Linked DNA regions of Homo sapiens: all the other regions are linked to region 3. Evidence: promoter capture Hi-C in 16 types of primary human blood cells and fetal thymus (Javierre and others, 2016). All regions are on one chromosome and are shown on one strand. Each heading gives the region's core, a stretch centred on a gene start or on the middle of the fragment in contact. The rest is flanking DNA. Distances are from core to core; before and after follow the strand shown.

Region 1 (4,263 bases), core at 1,383-3,882, 530 kb after region 3:
CGAGACTCTGTCTCAAAAAAAAAAAAAAAGAAAAAAAAAGGAAAATCATGTATGTGGCCAGGCAAGGTAGCTCAATCCCAACATTCTGGGAGGCTGAGGCAGGAAGATCACTTGATGTTAGGAGTTTGAGACCAGCCTGAACATAGTGAAACCAATTCTCTACTAAAAATTAAAAAACAAAAAACAAAAACATATGGTTTACAGATATAGACGCTAAGACTTTGGGAATCATACCACACCTATTTGTACTTTGGAAAATTACAAATGATTCCCTTCCAACCATAGTAGTTTGAGATTCAAAAGATCACATAGACATGCTATTAAGGAAATGACCAGGGCCAGGTGCGGTTGCTCACGCCTATAATCCCAGCACTTTGGGAGATTGAGGTAGGCAGATTGCCCAAGCCCAGGAGTTCAAGACCATTCAGGGCAACATGGCAAAACCCTGTCTCAACAAAAAATGCAAAAATCAGCCCAGTGTGGTGGTGCACACCTGTAGTCCCAGCTACTCAGGAGGTTGAGGTGGGAGGATGGCTTGAGCCTGGGAGGGTGAGAAGTGAGCTATGATTGTGCCACTGCACTCCACCCTGGGTGACAAAGTGAGATCCTATTTCAAAATAAAGAATGAATCAATAAATAAGTAAATAAGACCAGCCTAGCCAAAATGGTGAAACCCCATCTCTACTAAAAATACAAAAATTAGCGCCGGGAGTGGTGGCTCAGCACTTTGGGAGGCTGAGGCAGGTGGATTACCTGAAGTCAGGAGTTCAAGACCAGCCTGGCCAATATAGCGAAACCCCATCTCTACTAAAAATACAAAAATTAGCCTGGCATGGTGGCGCATGCCTGTAATCCCAGCTACTAGGGAAGCTGAGGCAGGAGGATCACTTGAACCCAGAAGACAGAGGTTGCAGTGAGCCGAAGTCATGCCACTGCACTCCAGTCTGGGCAACAGAGCAAGACGCTACCTCAAAAAAAAAATACCTTCCAACAGTCCTTGTCCTACTTCACTTTTTACAGGTTTTCCTCCACATATCATATGAAATAAGAGAACAGTGAAATACTGTTGGTCTGGATACTTAATCTGATGTGCAGAAGGAACAGCCCTAAATCCTGAGATCCATTCTTTTATATAACTAGATATGGAAGATATAAGATTCTTTGATGAGACTTTATTTATTTATTTATTTATTTATTTATTTATTTTTGAGATGGAGTCTGGCTCTGTCACCCAGGCTTGAGTGCAGTGGTGCAATCTCAGCTCACTGCAACCAGTGACTCCTGGGTTGAAGGGATTCTCCTGCTTCAACCTCCTGAATAGCTGGGACTACAGGTGTGCACCACCATGCCTGGCTGATTTTTGTATTTTAGTAGAGACGGGGTTTCACCATGTTAGCCATGCTGGTCTCGAACTCCTGACCTCATGCAATCCGCCCACCTCGGGCTCCCAAAGTGTTGGGATTACAGGCGTGAGCCACCGCACCCAGCCACTTAATTTCTTTTAACAAAGACATGAGAATTATGAATACATGGATGAATCATTTCGCCCTTGTATCCTTCCTTTTTTTTTTCTCATCACTATACCAACGAGGACCTTCTATCATTCTTAAAATAAAAGAGAAAGAAACAGAAATCCCAGCGCAGTACTTCCCAAACGAAAGCGGTTAGGTGTCCATCTGTCAGGCTATATTAAACCAGGAAGAGAATTTTCATTTCAAAACAGTTTCTTCTATTGGCGCTTTCTCCTCGTGAAATATTTACAGGAAACATACATTTAAAATGGAATGAAAGCAGAAACATACAGTAATCCAAGCAAAACTCAACAACGTCCGTTCTTTATTTTGCACAAGACGGTCTGCATTACCCTTGCCATTAAAAAAAGACTGAAAATCTGGGGCTGAAGTAAAACACCCATGACATGCCACCTGGAGCTAGGAATGTAGCTTTGTGTCAGCAGGAGACCAAGTGTGAGTGGTGGTTCTGGCTTGCTAAGTGGATACCAGAGCTTTCGTTCCCATTTATGAGCTTCCTAGGTTCATAAAACGGACAGAACAAAGAAGTCTGTCCTATGTTTATTTTTCAGAGTAGTGTAACATATGTTTCTCAAGAATGGTCTGCATCTTTAGCATCAGAATCGCCAGAGAAATTTGTTTAAATAGAGATTAAAGGGATATAGGTCAGATCAAAATCTCTGGTAGTTGGGGACCCAGGAATCTTCATTTTAAAACGTAAACCAAGTGATTCTTACGCTCAACAAAGTGTGCAGGAATTGGCCCGTGATCTTGGCTTTTTAACCACACCATGCCTCAATTTCCCCCTTCTGCACAAGACAACAAGAGTTCCTGGATATCTTGCGAGTTAGTACTTTTCTGCCTAGCCGGATTCAGAGACATGGCCGCTAAGAGGTGACCCGGGGCTCCCCTGAGATCCCCTGATTCCTGGTGAATTGTAAATTCAATTTGAGAAGAGAGAGAGGAAGGGATTTCCGATACTTAGAGACCACCCTTTGGATCCTAGAGATAATGCCGGCACAACTGTGTATCAGATTTCAGGGCGCGTTCGGCTAATAATGTTGCCGGCCAGCCGCCGTCGTTCGTGGAGTGACGCAACAAGGCGTACTCTCTGGCCGTTGTCACTCGACTACCAAGATGGCGGCCCCCGGGAGCTGTGCTCTATGGAGCTATTGCGGCCGTGGGTGGTCGCGGGCGATGCGGGGCTGCCAGCTCCTCGGGCTTCGTAGCTCTTGGCCCGGGGACCTACTAAGTGCTCGGCTCTTGTCCCAAGAGAAGCGGGCAGCGGAAACGCACTTTGGGTTTGAGACTGTGTCGGAAGAGGAGAAGGGGGGCAAAGGTGAAAGGGGCGAGAGGGCGGATGGGAGGGATCTGACCGTCCATGGTCTGGTTTCTTCTGGCCAGTTAGGGTTGATTTAACATCCAATTAGTTCCAGTGTTGTTGTCTGTGCAGTTATGATTTTTTTTTTTTTTGGAGACAGAATTTCGCTCTTGTTGCCCACACTGGAGTGCAATGGTCCGATCTTGGCTCACTGCAACCTCCGCCTCCCGGGTTCAAGCGATTCTCCTGCCTCAGCTTCCCGAGTAGCTGGGATTACAGGCGCCCGCCAGCACGCCCGGCTAACTTTTTTGTATTCTTACTAGAGATGGGGTTTCACCAGGCTGGTCTCGAACTCCTGACCTCAGGTGATTCGCCTGCCTCGGCCTCCCAAAGTGCTGGGATTACAGGCGTGAGCCACCGCGCCCAGCCAGACGCCCCCTTTTTAAAAGCAGAATACTGATGACTAAATCCCATCAACTGAGCGTTTGTGATGTGCCAGGCAACGTACAGACATTATTTTCAATTCTCATTTTCAACATTCCAGTAGTGGGTATTGTTATTACCATATTACACGTGAGGAAATTGAGACTTAAAGGTTAAGCAAGAAGTTGCCCAGTTGAACATATCAGTAAGTGGCGGAACCAGTATTCAAACCCAGTTTAATCTGAGTCTGAAGCCCCCGTTCTTTACCTCTAGAGAAAAATAGGGGTTTTTTTGGTTGTTTTTATTTATTTATTTATTTATTTATTTATTTTGAGACGGAGTTTCGCTCTTGTTGCCCAGGCTGGAGTGCAATGGCGCAATATGGGCTCACTGCAACCTCAGCCTCCTAGGTTCAAGCGATCCTCCTGCCTCAGCCTCCTGAGTAGCTGGGATTACAGGCATCTGCCACTGTGCCCTGCTAATTTTTGTATTTTCAGTAGAGACGGGGTTTCTTTTTTTTTTTTTTTTTTTTTTTTTTTTTTTTTTGAGACTGAGTCTCTCTCTGTCACCCCCAGGCTGGAAGGCAGTGGCGCGATCTCGGCTCACTGCAAGCTCCGCCTCCTGGCTTCACGCCATTCTCCTGCCTCAGCCTCCCGAGTAGCTGGGACTACAGGGGCCCGCCACCATGCCCGGCTAATTTTTTGTATTTTTTTTTTAGTACAGACAGGGTTTCACCATGTTAGCCAGGATGGTCTGGATCTCCTGACCTCGTGATCCACCTGCCTCGGCCTCCCAAAGTGCTGGGATTACAGGCATGAGCCACCACACCGGCCAATGTATAATCAACATTTTACAATGTATAATCAATGTATAATCAACATTTCACACAGTGGCAAGCAAGGAAGAAGTTAACTACTGAACTAAATATGAATTCCAGATTGGGGACTGAGATTGCAGTACAGACAGTCCTCGCTGTGCACAGTAATGCAAGACTGTGAAAATGTGCAA
Region 2 (4,245 bases), core at 330-2,829, 560 kb after region 3:
CAATTCCAAGAAAACGGCAAAAAATTAGCCCATCCCATTCCTCATCACAAAGATCTTAACTGCACCCCTGCAACACAAGACTTTTCCAATAGGACAAAACTTCAAACAGCATTGTATACCAAATGATTGCGGATCAAAATTAAATTTACAGGAACACAATACTGAAGCACTCCACTGTTGCTGTAAAAACTGCTGGAAACAGAATCTGTCAACTGGCCAAATTTTATCCTTAATTATTATCCAAACAGCCGTCCTCTTCACATCTATCCGGATGATGCTAATCTACTACCCTGTCCACTAGGTTAGCAAGTTGTAGGAACAACTCTTCACCATTTCTCCCACCCTAAGAGGTACTGGGGAGTAGAATGCCTGTGGGGGGCATTGGGTGGCAACGGTTATCTTTCTCTGCAAAATTCTTACAAGTGTTTGTGGAGCGTCACACAAGATTTAGCTACTCTAACTGCACGCAGTGCGAAAACCTTTTAAAGCTATGAAGGGGAGTAACGCTCTTGCAAGCTAGAGGCACGCACTGCTGCGTTTGTCAAAAAAGGCATTTATTTCTGTTCCATCTGAAGTCTTTCATCTTCCCATTCTCGACTGGAACCCTCCCACGGCTTAGGCTGCCAGCTTTCTTCCCTTCCAGCAAACACTGCTCGAGAAGTTGGCAGTCCTGCCGGCTTTCTAGACTGCCATTTACCAAGCCCCTACCCCAGCCCCCAGCCCCGCCACCACCCACCACCTTCCCTCAACTCCCCACTGGAAGGCTGGCAAGATCTCCTCCCGGCCCGGCTGGAAACACCCACGCAGCTCCCCCCTCCGGAACACCCAGATGGATCCTCGGCGCAGGAACCACACAGAAGGGGGAACCGCTGCTCCCTGATCTTAGATACCGTTGCTAGGTGGCGCTTTCCCCCCGCGGAGCTGGGTAATTAAAAAAAAAAAAAAAAAAACTTCGGACGCCGGGGGTCTGGTCTTCTCCACAGGAGCGCAAAATGCATCTGCGTCCTTTCTGGAAGCTTCTACGCCCCAAGCCGCCAGCAGTATTCCCGGGACCTGTCAGGCGCCCTTAGGAAAGCAGGATCGGGGGGAAGGAACCCCCTGCTCCCGGCTGCGTATCGGCCCCCGCGCCCATCCTCACCTTCTTGATATGAGCCGCAATGTCCTTCTCTATGTTGTATTTCTCCAGCGCCTGAGTAGCGCACTCCACCGAGTCCTGTTGCATCTCTTCCGACATGTCCGCATTTTTGATCACGGCCTTTCGGTCGCACATGGTTACCTAGTGGGCAAGGCCTGGGGTAAGGGGTTGAGTTGGGCCGCGCCCCCCAGGCACTAACTGCCCCCACCCCGGCCGGCGCCACCACGGGACGACGCCCCCCACCCCACTTCTCAGGAAGCGCGGGCTACGCGGAGGGCTAAGTCCGGAGTGGGGCGAAATAAGGCAGCGAGGACACCCCCTGGCCCCCCGAGTTTCTCACCGTGGAGAAGGGGGCTGGCCGACTGCAACGGTCTCCTGGGGGAGGTGCTAGCACAGCTCAGGCCCGGCTAGAGATACCGTCGCTACCGAAACCGTGGCGCATCTAAGCAGCCCCACGCCAGCCGCCGCCGCCTAGTGCTCAGGCCCCGCCCTGCTCCCGCCGGCCCCGCCCCTCGCCGCGCGACCCTATTGGCTTGACGCAGCCCACGGCATTCTTCCATTGGTCCATTGACTCCATGGTTCCCTCAGGATCTTTCTCCTGCATTTTGTTGCAGACCACAATGCACCGCTCACGGCGTCGGTTGCCCGGGCAATGGGCCGCACGCTACGAGGCCCACACACCCAGAAGGTGGAGCCCCGGCCGGGTTACGAGGACCACCCAGCTGTCTGGAGAGGTAGGAAGGGAGCTTCTGCCGGGGCCAAGGGAAGTGATTCCAAATTCACGGAGGTTGTCCCAGGGTGTGTTCTCGAACAACAGTCTCTAGAAGTTGGTGGCCATTCCTGCCCCCACCCCCCCGCCCCCCCACCACGACAGGTCGCATGATCTCGCACCCCAGGTTAGCAGGATTACGACAGAGGTGGCCTCTCCCTTTACTGAAAGGGTATCTCTGAAGCAGGGCCGGCTTCGTGGGTAAACCAGCAGTGCAGTCTCACAGGAGGGACCCTTACGTTTTCATTTTGCACTGGGCCCCATTTGTAGTCGGTTCTGCTCTGAAATATTTAGGGGAGGGCATCCTCAGGATTGAGGGAGGGCTTCAAGGAGGGAGGGTGTTTCCTTACGAATTAAGGGATTATCCCCAAGAGTGGGGTCTCTGCCAAGCAATGCGGACATCCTTTAAGGGGTTGGGGATGGGGATCCGGGTGGATTTGGGAGTGTTGAGCCCCGGGGTTTTTGTCCAGGGTGAAGCTTCTTGCTCAGGTGAGGCAGTCTTTCCTGTGTGGGAGAGATTCTTGGTTGGGATTTATCTCTGAGGAGGAGGTATTCTAATGGACGAAAAAGCGGCCGTTAGAGAGATGACGTCCCCTCTGGCTTAGGGAGGAGACACGAAGTGGTTAAAAAAGCAAGATCTTGGGGGAGTTGAGGGACAAGTCAGATCTGGATTTAAATCCCAGCACTGTCATTTACTAGCTATTTGAATGTCTTCTTTAAGTAAAGGAGGACTAAATGTAAAAGGAAACCAGTTCATACGCTTGTTAGCAGTATTAAACATTTGAAGTTCTCTCAGCACAATGTGAGGCACATAGTAAATGATCAATGAATCTTATCAATAATTGTCAGTTTATACAACTATCCCAAAGGCCACAGCAAGGTTTTGAACAACCAGCTCTGAAATGCCTATAATGTATTTTTCGAACCTCCATAAATAAGTTATCAGGTTAATCATGTATCTGGAAGCTTCCTATTTACATTTCTACATTTTCCTCTGACCATCTACTCTCATTACTCCTTAAAACAATTTGTGGCTGGGCATGATGGCTCACACCTGTAATCCCAGCACTTTGAGAAGCCGAGTCAAGGGGATCGCTTGAGCTCAGTAGTTGGAGACCAGCCTGGGCAATATGGCCAAACCCCATCTCAAAAAATAAAAATAAAACAATTTGAGCAGAGGCACACAACTCCAGAAAGAAAAAGATGGGAATAGGCCGGGTGCGGTGGCTCATGCCTATAATCCCAGCACTTTGGGAGGCCGAGGCGGGTGGATGACCTGAGGTAAGGAGTTTGAGACCAGCCTGATCAACATGGAGAAACCCCATCTCTACTAAAAATACAAAATTAGCTGGGCATGGTGGCACGTGCCTGTAATCCCACCTACTCAGGAGGCTGAGGCAGGAGAATCACTTGAACCCGGGACACAGAGTCTGTAGTGAGCCGAGATCGCGCCATTGCACTCCAGCCTGGGCAACTCCGTCTCAAAAAAAAAAAAAAGGAAAAAAATGGCAATAATTAGAACCTTTTCAGGTTCAACATATGCATATCAATTAAATCAACAGCTTTTTCCAGTTCCATGTTTCTAATGATGAGATTCAGGGTTTGAGGAGTTATAATATTACTATAGTACCTCTCTTGAGGAAGAAATAGGTTGACAACAAGTGAGGACCCTGGAAATGCAAATGACACTAAAGTAAAGCCACGGTGACTCCACTAAGTAGAAACCCCAGGGAAATTTCCTAAATCATCCTCATGATTTTTTTCCATATCTACACTACACTACCCCTGTTATTATTTATTTAATTTTTACTATAATAATACTATCATCATAATATAGTAATGTAATTGTTCATTAATAATACCTTATATGGCCGGGTGTGGTGGCTCACGCCTGTAATCCCAGCACTTTGGGAGGCCGAGGCAGGCGGATCACGAGGTCAGGAGATCAAGACCATCCTGGCTAACATGGTGAAACCCCATCTTTACTAAAAATACAAAAAAAAAAAAAATTAGCCGGGCGTGGTGGTGAGCGCCTGTAGTCCCAGCTAGTTGGGAGGCTGAGGCAGGAGAACGGCGTGAACCCCAGAGGCTGAGCTTGCAGTGAGCCGAGATCGCACCACTGCACTCCAGCCTGGGAGACAGAGCGAGACTCTCTCAAAAAAAATAAATAAATAAAAAATAAAAAATAATACTGTATATAATATTCTATATAATAATTTTATTTGAACTCCCTTTATTTTTTAAATAAGTATACTTTTTATTTTATTTTATTTTTTTGAGATGGAGTCTCACTCTGTCGCCCAGACTGGAGTGCAGTGGCGCGATCTGGGTTCAAGTGATT
Region 3 (4,199 bases), core at 583-3,082:
AATAATAAGTGCCTTGGGCAGTAAGATAATGTCGTGGGTAAACCTCTGGCATTTAGAATCAGAGAACCTGGGTTTGAATCACAGCTTGTCCACTTCTTTGGTGTGTGACTCTGGGCAGGCCACATCATCTTGCTGAGACTCGATTTCTTCATAATGTAACATGGTGTGAACCTGCATCACAGAGTCTTGTGGGGATTATGGGAACTAAACTGTGAAAAGAGGCTGGGTGTGGAGGCTCGCGACTCTAATCCCAGCACTTTGGGAGGTCAAGGCAGGCGGATCACTGGAGCCCAGGAGTTTGAGACCAGCCTGGGCAGCATAGCAAAACCCCATCTCTACAAAAAAAAAAAGTACAAAAATTAGCCAGGCTCAGTGATGCATACTTGTAGTCTCAGCTACTCAGGAGGCTGAGGTGGGAGAATCACTTGAGCCTGGGAGGTGAGGTTGCAGTGAGCCCAGATCATGCCACGCACTCCAGCCTGGGTGACAGAGCCAGATCCCATCTCAAAAAAAATAAAGAATAAAATAAACTGTGTAGAGAGCCTGGTATACACGAAGTGCTTGATAAGTATAGCTATTGGAGTTAATATCAATACCATAATGTCAAAGAGCCCTGGTAAACACTCTGGGCTCCTGTCTGCCTTCTGAAAAACAAGGATTAAGCAGATCCCCTCTGTCTCTTCTGTACTAGGATCCTAGGAACTACAAATGGTGATTGTTTTAGGTGGGTGTGGAGCATCATCTTGTGGAAGAGAGGAAAATTGACAAAAATGTCGCAGTTTCCTATTAAGAATATATATTGGAATTCACAGTTTTTAAAATATGAGTACATATACCAAAAATGCCCTAATGCAAGGTGATCCCCAAATCCAATCAATTTTTCCAATGGACTAATAACAAATATTTGCCAGGGAGAAAATAAAAATGTGTTTGAGAATCACATGGATCAATGGGGAAAAACATAAAAATAAATGAAAAATAAAAATATGTTGGCATAGCCCTAATTACATAAGCTTAAGGGAAATCAAATATGCACTTCCAATATTTCGTTAATTTATTTAGATACAGCTATACATTTGTATATGTTATGGGGTAATATACAAATATTACTCTTTTCCACTTTCAGTTTTCAAAAAGATTTTGTAACTCAAGCTCTTCACAGGCATCTCCCACTTAGTGGTTTTCCCTCTCCAAGGCAATTTTTGAATCTTCTAAGCCTGTGTTTCAGGGCTCAGTATTTTTTACTCTGTTAAGCAGAGTGAGAGACAGGCTGTCATGAATCTGGACATTTTTATTTTTAATTTTTTTTAGACAGGGTCTCATTCTGTTGCCCAGGCTGGAGTGCAGTGGTTTGATCACAGCTCACTGCAGCCTCGACTTCCCAGGCTCAGGTGATCCTCCCACTTCAGCCTCCCTAGTAGCTACGGGCACATGCCACATGCCCGGCTAATTTTTTTGTATATTTTGTAGAGATGGAGTTTTACTATGCTGCCCAGGCTGGAAATCTGGACATTCTTAACAAACCTCAGTGACATATTTATGCGTTGTTAGGGCATTTTTAAAATGCATCCTATAGGTGCATACTTATGGCCTCCACAGTATCAATGTGGGATTTACTTTCTTTCCTTTTTTTTTTTTTTTTTTTTTTTTTTTTTTTTTTTTGAGACAGTCTGGCTGGAGTGCAGTGATGCCATCTCGGCTCACTGCAACCTCCGCCTCTGGGGTCAAGTGATTTTCCTGCCTCAGCCTCCCAAGTAGCTGGGATTACAGGCGCCTGCCACCACGCCTGGCTAATTTTTTTGTATTTTTAGTAGAGACGAGGTTTCATCATGTTAGCCAGGCTGGTCTCAAACTCCTGGCCTCAAGCGATCCTCCCGCCTCGGCCTCCCAAAGTGCTGGATTACAGGCGAGAGCCACCGCGCCTGGTCGCTAGTTGAGATCTTTAAAAGCCAATGTGTCTACCACAAACTGTCAGTTTGCTCTTCAAAATGAAGTTCTTGAGAGAACAGCGCCCCCTAAAGACAATTTTTTAAAAGATTACCTCCTTCCTGTGGATTATTGGTGAGGGGATAGGGGAGACCTAAATATACGCAACAAAACAAGTAGTAAAGGGGTGAGTATGTCTTTGCTTTTAGAAAATAAAGAGTCAATCCCAGGCCCCAGGACTCCCGGGGCTCAGCCCAAGCCCCCATCCCCTCACCCCAAGGAGCCAGCACCTTCTGATTCCGGGGCAGACACTACTGAGTTCCCGTAGGGAGACAAGGTCTGCTCCTGCAGCAGGAAATAGGGGATGGAGAGGTGGGGGCAGCCCAGCTCCAGGACACCCTGGGAAACTCCCAGCCTGAGAACCTTCCTCTCAAGGAAGCCCAAGGGGCACTTGGCTCCATCTCCAGCCTTTTTTCCTGGCAACCTCAAATGGAAAGAGAAAATTCCTCTTTCAAAGCTCAGCAAATTTTCTGTTTCCAATTAAAACAAAACAAAACAAAACAAAAAAACCCAAACAAACAAAACAAAGTTCAGTTTCAGTTTCCATTCTCAGCCGGCAGGAGAGATGGCTGCTGAACTAAGGCAGCCCAGCAGAGGGAGGCTCAGCTGATGCCTGGAGGGCCCCCTAGCCCTCTCTGCACCCTAAAAAGAGGAAAGTAAGCTTAGTGATTCTTCCGTCGGTGGCTCACGCCTGTAATCCCAGCACTTTGGGAGCCCAAGGCGGGCAGATCACCTGAGGTCAGGAGTTTGAGACCAGCCTGGCCAACATGGTGAAACCCCGTTTCTACTAAAAATACCAAAAATACCAAAAATTAGCCGGGCGTGGTGTCAGGTGCCTGTAATCCCAGCTACACAGGAGGCTGAGGTGGGAGAATCCCTTGAACCCGGGAGGCAGAGGTTGCGGTGAGCTGAGATCACGCCATGGGTGACAGAGCAAGACTCTGTATCAAAAAAAAAAAAAAAAAGAAAGAAAAAGGGCAGCTAACTCTCTCTCTAACCCACACCATCTCCCTGCCCTTCTGCAGTTCTGTGGCCTACTGGACAAAGGCTGGGAGTTGCCCCTTACAGGGCTGGGCAGAAGCAGAGACGATTCATTCCTGGTCCCACAGAGATGGCAGGCTTCCAGGACCTGTATGACACCCCTGGGGACAGGCTGGATGTCTTCATAAAACATCCTTCCAGTCTGCCTTCGTAAAACAGCCTCCAGCCCCAGGGAGACTGGAAGGATGAAGTGAAGGATGCCGGGCATTGAACTGAGCAGTTCTTGAGGGATCAGTTCTTCTATAATGAGCTGATTCTGGACCAGGAAGTCAGGGTGCTGAAGATGGCAAAGGTGAGCACTCAGGAACCCCCGGGGTTCAAATCCCAGCTCTGCCCTGTGGGACTGTGGGGCTGTGGGATAGGTAAGGGATGAGTTATTTTGTCTCTCTGAGCATCGGTCTCTTCCTCTCTAAAACCGGTTTCTAATGAACAATAAATGGGATAAAGCATAGAAAAGTGCTCTTAAGCAGTAAACTATTCTACAAATCTGGATGATGATGATGATGATGATGATGATGATGATGATGATTTGGGATCCAGCTCTCTAAGTGCCAGGGAATCAAGTGGACTATGGGTAGCAGGTTTGTATAAAATTTATGCCTTTTGGCCAGGCACAGTGGCTCACACCTGTAATCCCAGCACTTTGGGACGCTGAGTGGGGAGGATCACTTGAACCCAGGAGTTCAAGGCCAGCCTGGGCAACATTGCAAGACCTCATCTCAATTATTTAAAATTTTAAACTTTTTTATATATTATTTAAAAAAAATTTTTAAAGAAATTAAAATAAAATTTATGCCTTTTGTTTCCTCTTTAACCAGCCCCACTTAACCCCTAAAGTCATCAAGATCATCTATATTTTCCTTCTAAAATGGCACTGACTGGCCGGGCGCGGTGGCTCACGCCTGTAATCTCGGTACTTTGGGAGGCCAAGGCAGGCGGAACACGAGGTCAGGAGATCGAGACCATCCTGGCTAACATGGTGAAACCCCGTCTCTACTATAAAAATACAAAAAAAAACTTAGTCAGGTGTGGTGGCAGGCGCCTGTAATCCCAGCTACTCGGGAGGCTGAGGCAGGAGAATGGTGTGAACCCGGGAGGCAGAGCTTGCAGTGAGCTGAGATCACGCCACTCCAGCCTGGGTGACAGAGTGAGACTCGATCTCAAAAAAAAAA

Evidence for each region. Contacts are between HindIII fragments. The CHiCAGO score rates a contact against its expected background, and 5 or more counts as called.
Region 1: the fragment with the promoter of COQ5 here is called in contact with a fragment that was not itself captured in region 3 in 2 of 17 cell types (fetal thymus and total B cells); the score reaches 5.9 in fetal thymus.
Region 2: the fragment with the promoter of DYNLL1 here is called in contact with a fragment that was not itself captured in region 3 in 3 of 17 cell types (total B cells, fetal thymus and naive B cells); the score reaches 7.3 in total B cells.

The regions. Positions count from the first base shown.
Region 1 is chr12:120,527,527-120,531,789 of GRCh38, reverse strand. COQ5 (coenzyme Q5, methyltransferase) reads left to right here and starts at 2,632. Exons shown (of 7, transcript NM_032314.4): 1 at 2,632-2,850. The coding sequence starts at 2,649. RefSeq lists enhancers at 2,296-2,755, 2,102-2,871, 2,872-3,642. The HindIII fragment of the contact is 14,447 bases long and covers 1-4,263 here.
Region 2 is chr12:120,493,447-120,497,691 of GRCh38, reverse strand. DYNLL1 (dynein light chain LC8-type 1) reads right to left here and starts at 1,579. Exons shown (of 3, transcript NM_003746.3): 1 at 1,476-1,579; 2 at 1,139-1,276. The coding sequence starts at 1,270. NRAV (negative regulator of antiviral response) reads left to right here and starts at 1,746. Exons shown (of 2, transcript NR_038854.1): 1 at 1,746-1,869. RefSeq lists silencers at 1,176-1,695, 1,986-2,035 and an enhancer at 1,255-1,921. The HindIII fragment of the contact is 1,365 bases long and covers 1,019-2,383 here.
Region 3 is chr12:121,058,569-121,062,767 of GRCh38, reverse strand. It overlaps LOC105378258 (a long non-coding RNA gene), which reads left to right. Exons shown (of 4, transcript XR_007063492.1): 4 at 3,012-3,478. It also overlaps the pseudogene OASL2P. Among named protein-coding and RNA genes, the nearest start is that of OASL, 21 kb to the right of the region's middle. RefSeq lists enhancers at 2,187-2,366, 2,387-2,556, 2,677-2,766. The HindIII fragment of the contact is 1,634 bases long and covers 1,016-2,649 here.